Linked DNA regions of Homo sapiens: regions 1, 2, 3 and 4 are each linked to region 5. Evidence: promoter capture Hi-C in 16 types of primary human blood cells and fetal thymus (Javierre and others, 2016). All regions are on one chromosome and are shown on one strand. The core of a region is centred on a gene start or on the middle of the fragment in contact, and the rest is flanking DNA. Distances in the headings are between cores, read along the strand shown.

Region 1 (2,700 bases), core at 194-2,693, 300 kb after region 5:
AAACCCAGAAAGCAGATGCATTCTACACTTGTGCAAGAAAAAAAACAAACCAAGAACCAGTGCAATTGACACTTCAGACTCCCAAAAGGTTTAGATGTCTATGACCCTATCTACCCCTGGAAGTGGGGGGTGAAGGAAGCAGCCAAAAGAAGGGGGAGATGGGTTGAGAGTCCATTCAGGAAGCACCCTAGTTAGACCTCCTGTTCCCCTCCCGGACTCTGCCCAAAAAAGAGACTTCTCCCAGCCCTTCCTGGCAGAAGCCTGGAGATTTGTTCTCTCAAAAGTGGAAAACAAAGGGTCTCTTGACTGAAAAACACACAGAACCATTAAGGATGGGCTTATCAGACCCCCTCAAAGGATGACTAAGTAAACATATCCATACTAGATGTCAAGACTCCCAGCTCTCTCCTTCAACTTGGTTTCAGAAGGCTGGTGGTCAGGACTCAGTCCTCCAAGCAGGAGATTGAAAGAGCTCTTCCTGAGGAATCTGACTTTCCCGCAAGCAAAATCTGATACCAAGTGTTCCTGTAACAAAATGGCCTGCCAGAACACCCTACAGGGAACCCGACAGATGTCAAGTTCACAGGCCCAGAGCCTCCTCTTGCCCGGTTACCAGGCATCTGAGGAAAGACAGAGCAAAAACACAAGCATGAAAAGGCATCTTGGAGGAAACAGGGTCTGTACAGGGAGAAGAACGCTTCAAATAAAGAGGATGCTCCAAAAATCCTTCAGGGAATAGAAAAAAGGGGAGCCCTCGGAAATTAAAATATGATAGAAAAATAAAAATCTCAATGGAAGGGTTGAAAGAAAAAAGTTGAGGAGATCTACTAGAACATACTGCAAAAATACAAAGAGACGAAAGTAGAGAAAAAAGATGAGGAAATGAGAGGCTTCTGAGATCTGACACCTAAGTGAGAGGAATTCCAGGAGAAAACAGAGAAAATAGGAAGGAGGAAATCCTCAAAGAGGCATCGCAAGAAACTCACCCAGAAGGAAAGGCGATGATTAAAAGGGCTACCCAGTGTTCCGTACAGTGGATGAAAACAGTCCCACACCAAGGCACATCGTTGTGAAATTTCACACCACTACTCACTAAGAGAAGATCTGGCTAGTTTCCAGAAAGGAAAAAGAGGACCCGCAAAAGGATCAGGAATGAAACTTGCTTCGGGCTTCTAACAATATAATTGAAATGTGGAAGAAGAAGAAATCCCTCTAACATACCGAAGAAAAATAATTTCCCATTTAGAATTCTACACCTGCCCAAGTTGTCAATTGAATAGAATAGAGATATTCTCAGATATGCAGAATCTCAAAATTGTACCTTGCCCACTCTCTTTCCTAGGAAGCAATGGTAGGACGTGTTCTTCCTAAAAAGTAAGAGAGTGAACCAAGAAAGAAACACGCATGGGATTCAGGAAACAGGGGATGCAATATGGGAGTGAGGCAAAGCAAACAGAGATGCCAGGAAGCCAGCTGTGCGCTAGGCAGAGAGGGCAACCAGGCCAGACCAAAGGGAGCAGAAGGCACCAGGGAGATTTCTCCAGATGGAATCAGTAGGACTTCTGGTGCATCTGGACATCTTGAGAGGAGATTGAAATGGTAGGTGGAAATTTTTGCATTGAAATTGGTGATGAGGCCAGGCATGGTGGCTCATGCCTGTAATCTCAGCACTTTGGGAAGCTGAAGAAGGCAAATCACTTGAGGTCAGGAGTTTGAGACCAGCCTGGCCAACATGAGGAAACCCTGTCTCTATCCAAAATACAAAAATTAACCAGGCATGGTGGCGCGTAACGCACACCTGTAATCTCAGCTATTCAGGAAGCTGAGACAGGAGAATTGCTTGAATCCAAGAGGCAGAGGTTGCAGTGAGCCAAGATCGCACCATCGCACTCCAGCCTGGGTGACAGAGCGAGACTCCATCCCCCCAAAAAAGAAAAAAGAAATTGGCGATGAGAGCAAACACAACTACACAAACCAAACCAAGACAATTAATTAGTCCCTCCAGAGAAGAAAAAGAGTTGTGCAGGAAAGACAAAGCAATCTGGTTTGCTGCATGGATCAGCTACATACAAACAGAACTTTATAGACATAAAAATATTAAAACTGAGTATTCATCCAACCAAAATTGTGACACAGCTCCCTTGCTGGACGAGAAATGGGAAGTATGTGAGCACGTGGTGGGTTCAGGGGAGGAAAGGGAGCCACGTTTCCATCTTCAGTGGTAGAAAGTTCATAGGTCGTCTCTGAAGATGGAAGCATCTATAAGTATTACTAGAAGGGTGTCATTTACAGACAAAAACCAAAGGGAAAAAATAGCCAAAAGAAATGAAAGTGATGACCTCTGCAGATTGGAAGATGGTCAAAGAGGAAACCCAACTGCTTTTGTTTCAAATTATTTAGAAAAATGTGATGCTTCAAATATATTACTTTCATATATCACTTTTTTTTTTTTGACACGGAGTCTCGCTCTGTCACCCAGGCTGGAGTGCAGTGGCACGATCTCGGCTCACTGCAACCTCCACCTCCCGGGTTCAAGCGATTCTCCTGCCTCAGCCTCCCGAGTAGCTGGGACTACAGGCATGTGCCACTACGCCCAGCTATTTTGTGTATTTTTAGTAGAGACGGGGTTGGTTGGCCAGGATGGTCTCGATCTCTTGACCTCGTGATCCGCCCGCCTCGACCTCCCAAAGTGCTGGGATT
Region 2 (2,700 bases), core at 18-2,517, 280 kb after region 5:
AGACCCATGTTGGAAAGGACTCTCAGACCTGGTCCTGGGGAGCGCTCTGGGGGTCTCCTGACTCCCCTTCTCCACTCCCTCTGAGGGGATGGAGTATTGGGAGAGGAAACAGCCCTGTGTCCTACCGCCCCCTCCATCCCCCCCGGGGCTGCCCTAGAAGCAGACTGGGTCGGGGAGCCTGGTTGGTAGGTTAGAACGTGCTCATGCTCTGCCAGTTCGCTGATGTGTCATGCAGCCACTCTTGTACCTGCCATCCCTACTCATCCCCTCACGGGGACCAGAGCTTCTGCAGCATAGGGACTGTGTCATCACACTTCACTAAGGCCAGCACAGCGGGGGCTTCCCAGAGGTCTAAGGTGACCTTAGCCCATGCCTGTGGCTTATCTCTGAACCCGATTCAAGCTCCCCATACTCTGTGCATAATTCATCAGCAGTCCAACACTTCCCTTAACAGCATCCAAATACCCTGATCCCCAAAATGGTCACATGCACTTTCCAGCATGAGACCGGGATTACCCTTATCTCTCTGAATATCTCATCACTGGACTCGGACTCCAAGGGGCCACACACTTCACAGAGTCTTCTCCTGTGAAAAGACCCACAACAGTTATTCACAGTTGCTGAGTTCTGCTGAGCTCTTCAAGGACAAATGGTAGATCTGGATAAAGCCAGAAAGCTCCTGAGAATTTAATCAAGGGCAACGAACCATGAGACTTCCCCTACGGGTAGTCACCTGAGAGAACTTGGGCTGTTTTAACTCTGCAAAGACAGTATTAACCTGTTGCTTTCAATTGTGTTGGGTTGCATATTTAAATCTGTTCCCTGGGGATATGGTGACACACTGATAGACCCCAATAAATACAATTCCTGAATCCCAGCCAAGAAACACTGGTGTGTGTGCAACTGGAGCAGAGGGAGGGGCAGGGACATTGGGAAATTCTAAATAAATGGAAAAATCTGGCTTGTATTTCAAGGATTATTCAAAAAGAATCTTCCCTTAGAAGCATCAGTGAGTCACACGCATCTAACCAGAATGCAAAGTTTACAAAGCATGGTAATGGCAGAACACAGCACAGGGCAGATACACACATGCAGAGATGGACTCTGTTGCATACTGGGGAACCAATTTTGAAAAGTAACAACAGGCTTCTTCTGAGAGAGGAAATTATTCATCCAAAACAGTGCTGGGAAAATTCAGATTTACATTTTTCCTAGGGCCTTTGAGTTGCATATTTCTGCAATGAGTGAGCTGGATTTGATGAGGCTTTACAATGATTGTTCAAAATTAGTGTTTCAATGCTCTGGTTTTAAATGGAATGCTTTTGGGTTGGGTTTTATATTTGACAGCTAAGGACCTTAATAACAGTTTTTGAGAAGCAACTCCTTAGGGCAGAACATCTTTGGATCCTCAATAGTTTTGAAGCGACCTGTTCTCTGCACTATTTTTGGTTTCTTTCTGCTATTTTTCTAAAAAGAATCCAGGAGTTTCATGTGTAAGAGCATCGTTCTTTTTTCCGTTTGCTCACAGATTCTGACGAGGCAATGGCAAGAAAGGCTGACACTTTGCACATCCTTCACAATCTTCTGCAAGGATGGCTTAGAATCGTCCTGCGTGGAGGAAGGAACAACCTTTGACCTTAAGGTAACTTAAGGTTTGACCTTAAGGTTTATTACTGACTTTTCTTTTTCTTTTTTCTTTTTCTCTCTTTTTTTTTTTTTTTTTTTTTTTTTTTGAGACAAAGTCTCACCCTATCACCCAGGCTTGAGGAGTGCAGTGGCACGATCTCAGCTCACTGCAACCTCCGCCTCCCGGGTTCAAGCAATTCTCATGCCTCAGCCCCCTGAGAAGCTGGGACTACAGGTGTGTGCCACCATGCCTGGCTAATTTTCAAATTTTTAGACAGATGAGGTTTTTCCATGTTGGCCAGGCTGGTCTTGAAATCTTGACCTCAGATGAGCCTCAGCCACCAAAAGTGCTGGGATTACAGGTGTAAGCCACTGCACCAGGCCTATTGTTGACTTTTCTAGGGGTCTATCTTTTATATGTCTCTACACTAATTTTTTTCTTCAGCATTTTTTGAAGATGTTTGTTTTTGTTGTTTTCTTTTTCCAATTTCTGCACACCCTGCTTGTTCATGATGATTTCTGAACCACATAATCGAGCCAACCACTTTTTGCTATTTCACAGCAGTACTAATACTATTCCTGAACCATATATATTTCAGGAGAAAGAGCAGATTGGGAAAGCCTAGGCCCTTTTCTGTATACTTTTGGCTTGAGCCTAGGTCATCACAGTCTTGAATGTGGGAGGGTGAGTGGAAGGAAAAGGGTCTGTGCCATTCAAAGTGTGCTCTTTTTGCGGACTTTGGGAGTCTCTGGCTCCTGTTTCAGAGCTCCACTTCATCCTCGCCTGTCCCCATCACTCTCTGCAGCTGATTGGCCACCAGACTTTGTGTCTTCTCCCTCTTGGTAATCTCCTCCCTGATTACCCGGCCGTGGTCTTACCCTACTCTAGTCCACCTTGCACTGTGCAGGCAGAGCAACTCTTCCACAATGTAAATAAGATCTTACCCCGGTTCTCACCACCTTCCGGACACTGCCCAAGTTCCTCAGCATCACATACTAGGTCCTTCATCGTGGCACCCTGCAGCTTCCCTCACCCCTCCCCTGGCCACCCACCCTCAGCCACACCAGCCTGGT
Region 3 (2,700 bases), core at 78-2,577, 260 kb before region 5:
GGAAAGAATATAGACATAGCAGAGTAGAGTTAAATGTAGATTTAAATGACATGATGCATATAAATGTTTAACTCACAGCCTGGAGCATAGGAGATACTCAAACTTTATTCCCTTTCCATATATAAAGAGATTAGGCCCATAACATGAAACTGAGAGATAAACATTCTCCCTACAGAATGGAAAGGAAGAAAAGAGCATTGATGAAGCAGCTCGATGAACTCTTGTAAGACCTTTCTCCAAGTGAGTTATCATTCCAAGGTTCCTGTTGTTACTTTCTGAAGGGCTTTGTGCTTATGAAGCAGATAGGGACAGAAGGGCGGGCCGGACCCCATGGTCATCTGGCAGCCTTGCTTGTGTTGGGTCAGCGTGCCAGCATTCATGCCCCTGGGGGTGTGAGCACCCTTTCTGGAATCTTGAAAGGAAATGCAACCTCCCCAAACCCCACTACTCTCTCAAGGAGTCATGGGTGATGAAGATGTTTCCTGCCATTCTCTGCAGGACAGAGAGTTGCTTAACCCTCGTTTCATTATCAGTGGAGGAGCCAGCCATTGGACCCCCACCCCTCAGAGTGAGCCAGCAGCCAGAACTAGCCCTTTGGCATCCCCCGTCTTGATTGCAAGCAAGCAAACCTGTCACCTTCCTGTTTTATCTACTCATGGTGTTTGTTTCCTTTGACGTGGATTCTTACACTTAGGGTGGGAGGGATTTCTCGAAAAACATTTGTTGTATGCCACTGATCCTGGCCCCACAACGCCCCTTTCTCTTTCCTTTTCAAGGCTCCAGGAATTGCTAAATGGCATATCCTGAACACCCAGCACTCTGGGGCTAAAAATACCAGAGGGTGTGTTTATCTAGATTGGGGCTTCCTCTCCAGGGGCTTTACAGACGTTATCTCATTTATCCTTGAAAACACTCTGCGAGGCAGCATGTAGTCAAATAACTTTACCCCAGAAAGGTACGGAAGGCTTGAAGAGGAAAGGTCATCGGTGGAGGTTCTATTCTGAGGCCCAGTAGACAGGCTCAGGTCTTTAATTTCTCAGCTTAAAATTCCATTCACTCTGCATTTCCCCCTTAGAACTGTGGGAATCCTTAAAAAGCAAATACAAACCCACGACTCCTGGCACATAGAAAAAGGCCAGGTTGAAATACCCCCCAGGTTACCTCCTCTCGGTGTCTTCATTACATCTTTACAAATCCGAGATCCCATGGCCTTTGGTCATCTCTTCTAATTGCTCCACATACACAGGCTCCCTCGAGACCTCATTTGCCACCATGGTTTAAACTCTCACCTATCTAAACTGATGGTAGACACTTTCCATATCTCTCACACCCTCTCCATAGTTGATATAAAATAATTACCTACTAGAAGTTGTACATGAATTTGTTACATACACAGCATTTCCCCCTCATTTTGCACATCCTCGATATTCCCTGGCCCATACCCAAAGACCTGAGACTCCTGGCACATTCCATCCCCTCTCTGACTGCCACATGCAAACAGTTACTGAGTTAGCTATCTTCCAGGTGCACCCCCAGATGCACTTTCCCTCCCTCCAAAATGCATGCCTAAGGAGCCTGACTTACAGGCTCCTTCTTTGCCCTCTGGCTACTCCCTGGGGTTGGTCTTTGGTGAGCACTGGCAGGAGAATGGGAGGAGGCAGGAGAGGGATGATGCTGTATGTATTGTCCCATTCTTCTCCCTGTGGGGTTGCCATGGACTGGCTGCATCCTGGATACAAGGTCAGGTCTCATCAGGCATCCTTTTCCACACAGCTGCTTTCCTGGTGGCCATCGGGCCTGGAGGTGGCAAAAGCTGCTGCCTCCTGATGGCATCAATTCCAGGGCACCGCTCAACCCCTGGTGCATGTTTTAAACTCCACCCACACATGCTGTAAATAGCCCTTATATGAAAGTTATTACAACATCCAGCTAGAGTGGGGTCTCCTCTCTTTCTGGATGCTACCCAAACTAAAGTCACCAATTTCTATATTTTACCATTCAATTCAGATGACATTTTACATGTATGTATACATATTTACTTGTTGAATTAGAAAAGCCAAGATGGCATTATATTTTAAGCCAATACATCAGACTTCGATATATGTGTTACTTCCAAACCTCTCTCCCTGTAGTCTCCTCACCATTGTTCAGATTGTCAAAGTGTCATTTCCAAATACCTGTGAAATTACATTAATCTTGCATAAGTTCATCAGAGGTCCCAGTATCTTTCAGCATATGATTCACTTTTACTTATGTCTGTCTTTCTAGAGTAAGTCTTTTATCTCTACTTCCAGGACATCCTCAAATGTTTTTCAAACATTTATCAAATAGACAAACACTGAATGGAACTTTAGGTCTTAAATAAGTGTAGCTATTTCCTTTTACAATATTATTTTCTTTTAAACTGCAATTTCTTGTCCTACTGAATAAGTCCTCCTTACGTGGCTACAGGAATGCAAACACCTGGGTATAATGTGATGACTTTCTAACTTTGCAGAACTGTTATCAATGAGGGCTTAGACTGTGATGTAAAAGTAAGGGCTCTAAACTAGATTCCCTGGATTCCTGATTTCTCTGCTAGTCCCGCAACCTCGGGCAACTTACTCAACATTCTATGCCTCCATTTCCTAACCTATAAAATGAGGGTAGTAATATCATCTAACTCATGGGTTTGCTGCAAGAATTAAAAGAGTTAACACA
Region 4 (2,700 bases), core at 96-2,595, 280 kb before region 5:
GAGGGCATGCAGAGTAATGATAATGTTGTGAACATGAAAAGCACTGTGGCCTCACTCCACATCTGATATGTTCGGATATTTTATCCCCTCCATTCGCATGCTGAGATGTGATCCTCATGTTGGAGGTGGGCCTGGTGGGAGGTGTTGGGGTCGTGGAGGTGGATCCCTCATGAATGACTCGGTGCCCCCTCATGGTAATGAGTAAATTCTTGCTCTGTGAGTTCACCCAATATCTGGTTGTTTAAGAAAGCCTGGAACTTCCAGCTCCCTCTCTCTTGCTCACTCTCTCCCTCATGTGACATCCAGGCTCCCCTTAGACTTTTCACCTTGACTATAACATTCCTGAGGCCCTCACCAGAAGCAGATGCTGGCACGATGCTTTGTGTGCATCCTGCAGAACTGTGAGCCAAATAAGCTTATTTTTGTTATAAATTACCCAGCCGCACATATTCCTTTATAGCAATGCAAATGGACTAATGCACCATCCCCAGTGGCCTCCTTCCAATCCACAACCTGCTAGCCAAGCAAGGGTGGTGGAGGCAGATTTGAGGGTGAGCCCTGGGATATGAGGCAACTCTCATGTGTGACTGGCTGTGGCCTTGAAGCAGCTGCAATGATTTTCATCTCCTGGGCAGACTGAGGTTAGGAGTTTAATCTATGCTACGGGGTGAGGTCAGAACACCTTCCCTTGTTTTGATCTCATTGGGCTCCAGCCTCCCTTATAAAGGTCCTATTAAAAGGGGCTATAACTGCCTCTGTCTTGGCCTGCCTACTCTATGGGAATTTTCCTATAATTTTGAAGTATTTCAAATCAAAATTTAATTATTTGGAATGGTTTATTTAAAACCCTTCTGAAGGAAAGAGGAAGGGCTAAATGAGGTCTTTGGCATTCTCCTGTACTGCTACTTTCAGTGGGGCTCTTTCTGCCCAAGGCTCTTTTTCAGTAAATTGCCCTGGTTGGCTAAACCCAGTGGGTTTCTTCCTATCACCATATCCCATATACTCTTACAGGAATTTCAGAAGAATTACTCCTTTTTGTTTCCTGAAATGAGCATTCTATGAGCCTATGTTTTTAAATAAAATAGCCTGGAACCATTTTCATTAAAAGATAGTACAGCAGTACAGTGCAAACATTTAACTTATGAAAACTAACAAGCAGATGAAACAAAAAGAGTTGAGGGCACTCAGTGAGGAATGCTCACTATTGAGGTGTTAGTCGTGAAGCACTGAAGAGAGTTTGAGAGAGTTCAGGGAGGTGTTCTAAGCACATCTGCCCTCAGCATGTACTGTTTGTATAGGATGTGAGGTTCTGGACCAAGTCTCAGCAAGGAGAGAAAAGGAGTGGGGAATGCAATGAGGTCTCTCTCCTCATAGTGCTCAGTCCAGGGGAAACCTAGAAAGGAGTAAGTCAGGGTCACCCTACAACTATTTTTGAGGCCACAGTTGCACAGGGCACCCACTGAACACCATTTCAGTTCAAAAGACACACTTGCTTATGAGCCTCATTGAGGGTAACTCATCTTGTATTCACCAGAGAAAGGGGGAAACCCACTAATCTAGAAGTAAAGGGACCTGTAACACAAGAGCTTCTGTATGACACTGCCAAGGCTCTGTACTGACTTTCAAAAACAAAACAAAAGTAAGAAGTTTATAATGGTAAGAAGAATTGAAACCTGCAAAGCAAGTTTATCAAAATATAAGGTTAAAGTGGGGATTCCAAATTGTCCAATATAATATGACGCTAAGTCAAAATTTCGTTACCACCTTGAAACTTTTCTTCATGAGAATTTTGTTCCATCTGTGTCTCATTAACATGTTCACTTATGTTTACTGTCCTATGAAGTCATTACATAGCCTCTTTTCTGAGGGCTCAGACCTCTAGACAGTCCTTCCTCAAGTTCACCTGAGAGTCACACCTGGCCTGAAACCTTTAAATCTAAGAGAAAAACTCACCTATACATTTCAACAATGTTTACTTAAAAATCCAAGTTATCCAAGGTCATAATTTTCATGGAATATTGCCAGAGGGTCTTTAACTAAATGTCACCTTTTAATTAAGAAGGCAACTGGCAACTATTTCTAAAACTTAGATTGCCGTCTCAACATTCTCTATTTCTCTTTACCTCTCCTTATTTTTTCCTTAGCACTTACCACCATTTAACCTAGATTATATTAAATGTGTCTGGTTTGTTGTCTGTGTCACATAGTAGAATGTTAGTTCCATAAGGGAGTAAATTTTGACTCTTATTTACAACTATAGTCCCAGTATCTAAAACAAAGCTTAGAACACATTAAGAACTTGATAAATATTCATTATCAAATTCTACAGCTCAACTTAGCACCACTAGACCCATTGACTCTGATGCTGATATCTTCTCAACAAAATCATACATGACATAAGAAAAATAAATAGCTTCTTCTCATATGATGGGTTTTCTAGACCAATATTAACCAGTGTCTACATGTGACTGTTGAGCATGGAAATGTGACTAGTCCAAATTGAAATGTGAGTATGAAATACACACTGGATTTCAAAGAATTTGGATAAAAAAAGGATGGAGAATATCTCAGGAATCATTTTATATTGATTGCATATTGAAATGATAGTATTTTAGATATATTGGGTTAAATAAAATATATTATTAAAATACTTTTTACCTGTTTCTTGTTTCTTTTTTAATGATGCTACTAGAAAATTTA
Region 5 (2,700 bases), core at 129-2,628:
GAGTTGGCAAGGATGGAAGTAGTTGATTTACAATTAGAAGCAGCATGCTTCTTCAAATATTAATATTAATAACTGCACTACTGAACACATGAAAAGACCTTTTCATCTTCAAAGCACTTTGCAGACATTAACCCATTAGCTCTCCCTTCCCTCCATTCAGGAACAACAGGTGAGCAAGACTCTCAACAGCAGCAGTGGCCACCCTGCAGCCCTTGTGCACAGCCCACGGCCCCTGAAGAAAAAGCGTTTTCTCTTTGGATAAAAATAGGCCACCAAACCCAAAACCACAACTGATGAAAGAGTTATAGTATCAGTAATTTTACAAATCAAATGGAGCTGATGGAGTTATCATTTTAGAATTGGTATTTCCTGCTGTTTAACAAATACTTTTTTCTCAGTTGCATGGCAGTGGTCTAAAGTAAGAAGGAAAATGGACTTGAGATTAAAAACAAAAACTTACCCAAAAGGTGATAAAGAAATCCTGCAATAGAATGCATTGATTTCAGTGACCCAGCACCCTTTTAAGTTTGCCTGAAGAAAATACTACTTTAAAAGTTGGTAACAGAGACCTTTAACGGTGGGTGAGGAGTCACATACAAAGTGTCACGGCCAGATAAAATCACCGGATGCAGAGGAATTGCCATCGACATCTCCTGCCACTGAGTCCAGCTCTACCGTGGGGACAAGAAATACCTCCCTAACTCTGAGACAACCGCGGCCCACACCCACACCATGTCTCAACAACAGACTTAGGAACTTGTAGATCTTTGGACAACTGCAGGTCAGTCCCAAGACAGAGAAAAACACCAAACAGGCTAGTTTGGCTAGCAAGATTCAAACCTGTAGCAATTTCCTCTCTATTAAAAGCAATTCATTAAACTACTAGCAGGAGAAAAAAGTAAAACAATAGATTTACTAGGAGTGAAAGAGAATAAAAAGAAATTTATATATTTAACTACAGCTTTATTTCTTTGGAAGTGCTCCAATTTGCAAAAAAAAAAAAAAAAAATCAGGGTTTCTGACAAGTAATCTACGGGTATCTAAAACGTGCATGGTTTTACTTTTGTGAAGCAGGGAACATTTTTAAAAACATAGTCTTGCTTTCAGACTATTCTGACGAGGTTAGGAAGTATTTTTGAAAATTGTTAAACAATTAAATGGGAATATAGAAAGACGTGAAAAGAGAAAGAGAAAACTCACTTGTATCCTGAATCTCCCTACCGACTTACTCTTTAATTCCACAGAAATTTTTTTAAAGCAGGAAAAGGAAAATGGACTGAAAAGTTTTAGGCAGAAACTGACACACACCTCACTTACTACTTTGCCGGAGAGCAGATCCTGAGTGAGCTTCCCTCAAAGTCTGTGGTCTCTTTCCAACTACCTGCGGGAATCCTCTGCTCCGTAGCTTAAGAGGATGCAAAGACCATAATGTTTCTAATAGAGCTGCCTCCTTAAATTGGGGGGTGTGGTCAAGCCAGGGAAAGCTGGAAAAAAGGCAGTCTTCCTCTTGCCCCTGGCACCAGGACAGCAGCCACTGGCACAGGCACAGCAGTCTAGGTGGAAAGCACTGTTGATTGACAGTGGTGGCACCAAATCACACATTATTTCGTATTCTTCAAATTGTGCTTCAGCTGAATATAACTCAGCCTTGGAGAGTAACAGGGAGGGAGATGAGCAAAAGGGAACTAGTTCAGTGGGATAACACTGTATCTCACCTCATCATTTGCTGATGCATTTACTCTCTGCTGAATATGTAAATATTCATGCTTCATGTTCCTTGACTTTCTCAATGGAGCCCCCATTAACCTAGGCAAGGTCTCAGGTGAGGGAAAGGGATTGCTTTAGAAACACAGGACGTCCACCACCCAGTCACCTGCTCAGGCTTCCCGTTTCTCTCTAATAACTTGATATGAAATGTGATATTTTCTAAAGAAAAGAAAATAATTTTGTGGAAGAGAGCTGACTGGATATGGACTTGGGATTTCTGAAAAGTAAAGCTAAAAATCCCCTTTTCATATAAGTCTGGTTTTAGGCAATCTCTAAAATAAGGATACTTTTAGCAGCCCTGACTCATGGTCCGTGGTGCAGGAATAAAAGGGCAGAAGTGTTCATACATTTCTCATTTAGGGAAAATGTAAACAATATGAAAATCTTACATCTGTCCTAAGTGAAAATACACAGCATCTTTTATTCACATATTCAGGACTATGGTAAGAATGTTACAGCATAATCTCATTTCTATGAATGGAGTTATTACAATTTTTTTTGAGAAGTCAGTATTTGGCTGCTTAATCTAAGACTTTTATCCTAAAAGATTCCATCTTCTTTGAGTAGGAGGTGGGAGTTAAGATTTGTCATAGTTGGCTTCTTTCTCTTTTTAATAAAGATACAAACTTAGAAAATCCTTGAAAATCTAATAACTGTCATTTGGAGCCATATCATCATCAGCCTTCATTGTATAAAGCTGGCAATGCAGTTAAGATGACATTGTAAGTAAAGCAAGATTTTACTGCTCATCTTCTGCCTTTGCACATTAACTTGGAAGTAAGGAAGAGGTAATGCTATTGGTTCACTTTAGTTTAATAAATTGCCTGTGCCAGGCACTGTTCTAGGCACTAGAAAGATAGCAAGTTTGCATTGTAGTGAGGAGACAGACACATAAATCAACGATCTCCCCCCAAAAATGTAATACATGCTACA

Evidence for each region. The method cuts DNA at HindIII sites, captures the fragments that hold promoters and counts their contacts. A CHiCAGO score of 5 or more calls a contact.
Region 1: a fragment that was not itself captured here is called in contact with the fragment with the promoter of ETS1 in region 5 in 4 of 17 cell types (naive B cells, megakaryocytes, total CD8 T cells and 1 more); the score reaches 7.0 in naive B cells.
Region 2: a fragment that was not itself captured here is called in contact with the fragment with the promoter of ETS1 in region 5 in 3 of 17 cell types (total B cells, naive CD4 T cells and naive B cells); the score reaches 6.9 in total B cells.
Region 3: a fragment that was not itself captured here is called in contact with the fragment with the promoter of ETS1 in region 5 in 15 of 17 cell types (activated CD4 T cells, total B cells, naive B cells and 12 more); the score reaches 21.3 in activated CD4 T cells.
Region 4: a fragment that was not itself captured here is called in contact with the fragment with the promoter of ETS1 in region 5 in 17 of 17 cell types (activated CD4 T cells, total B cells, naive B cells and 14 more); the score reaches 35.2 in activated CD4 T cells.

Annotation. Positions count from the first base shown.
Region 1 is chr11:128,882,080-128,884,779 of GRCh38, forward strand. No RefSeq gene overlaps it. Among named protein-coding and RNA genes, the nearest start is that of KCNJ5, 7.9 kb to the right of the region's middle. The HindIII fragment of the contact is 3,507 bases long and covers 1-2,700 here.
Region 2 is chr11:128,862,369-128,865,068 of GRCh38, forward strand. The region is part of intron 1 of KCNJ1 (potassium inwardly rectifying channel subfamily J member 1); the gene reads right to left. It overlaps LOC107984409 (a long non-coding RNA gene), which reads left to right. Exons shown (of 3, transcript XR_001748442.2): 2 at 1,529-1,642. Among named protein-coding and RNA genes, the nearest start is that of KCNJ1, 3.6 kb to the right of the region's middle. The HindIII fragment of the contact is 3,618 bases long and covers 1-2,700 here.
Region 3 is chr11:128,328,663-128,331,362 of GRCh38, forward strand. All of the region lies in intron 1 of LOC124902787 (a long non-coding RNA gene), which reads right to left. Among named protein-coding and RNA genes, the nearest start is that of LINC02098, 120 kb to the left of the region's middle. The HindIII fragment of the contact is 7,097 bases long and covers 1-2,700 here.
Region 4 is chr11:128,310,674-128,313,373 of GRCh38, forward strand. All of the region lies in intron 1 of LOC124902787 (a long non-coding RNA gene), which reads right to left. Among named protein-coding and RNA genes, the nearest start is that of LINC02098, 100 kb to the left of the region's middle. The HindIII fragment of the contact is 1,865 bases long and covers 414-2,278 here.
Region 5 is chr11:128,586,180-128,588,879 of GRCh38, forward strand. It overlaps ETS1 (ETS proto-oncogene 1, transcription factor), which reads right to left and starts at 1,379. Exons shown (of 10, transcript NM_001143820.2): 1 at 1,309-1,379. It overlaps LOC105369565 (a long non-coding RNA gene), which reads left to right. Exons shown (of 5, transcript XR_948163.3): 4 at 161-781. RefSeq lists a silencer at 1,332-1,538. The HindIII fragment of the contact is 9,036 bases long and covers 1-2,700 here.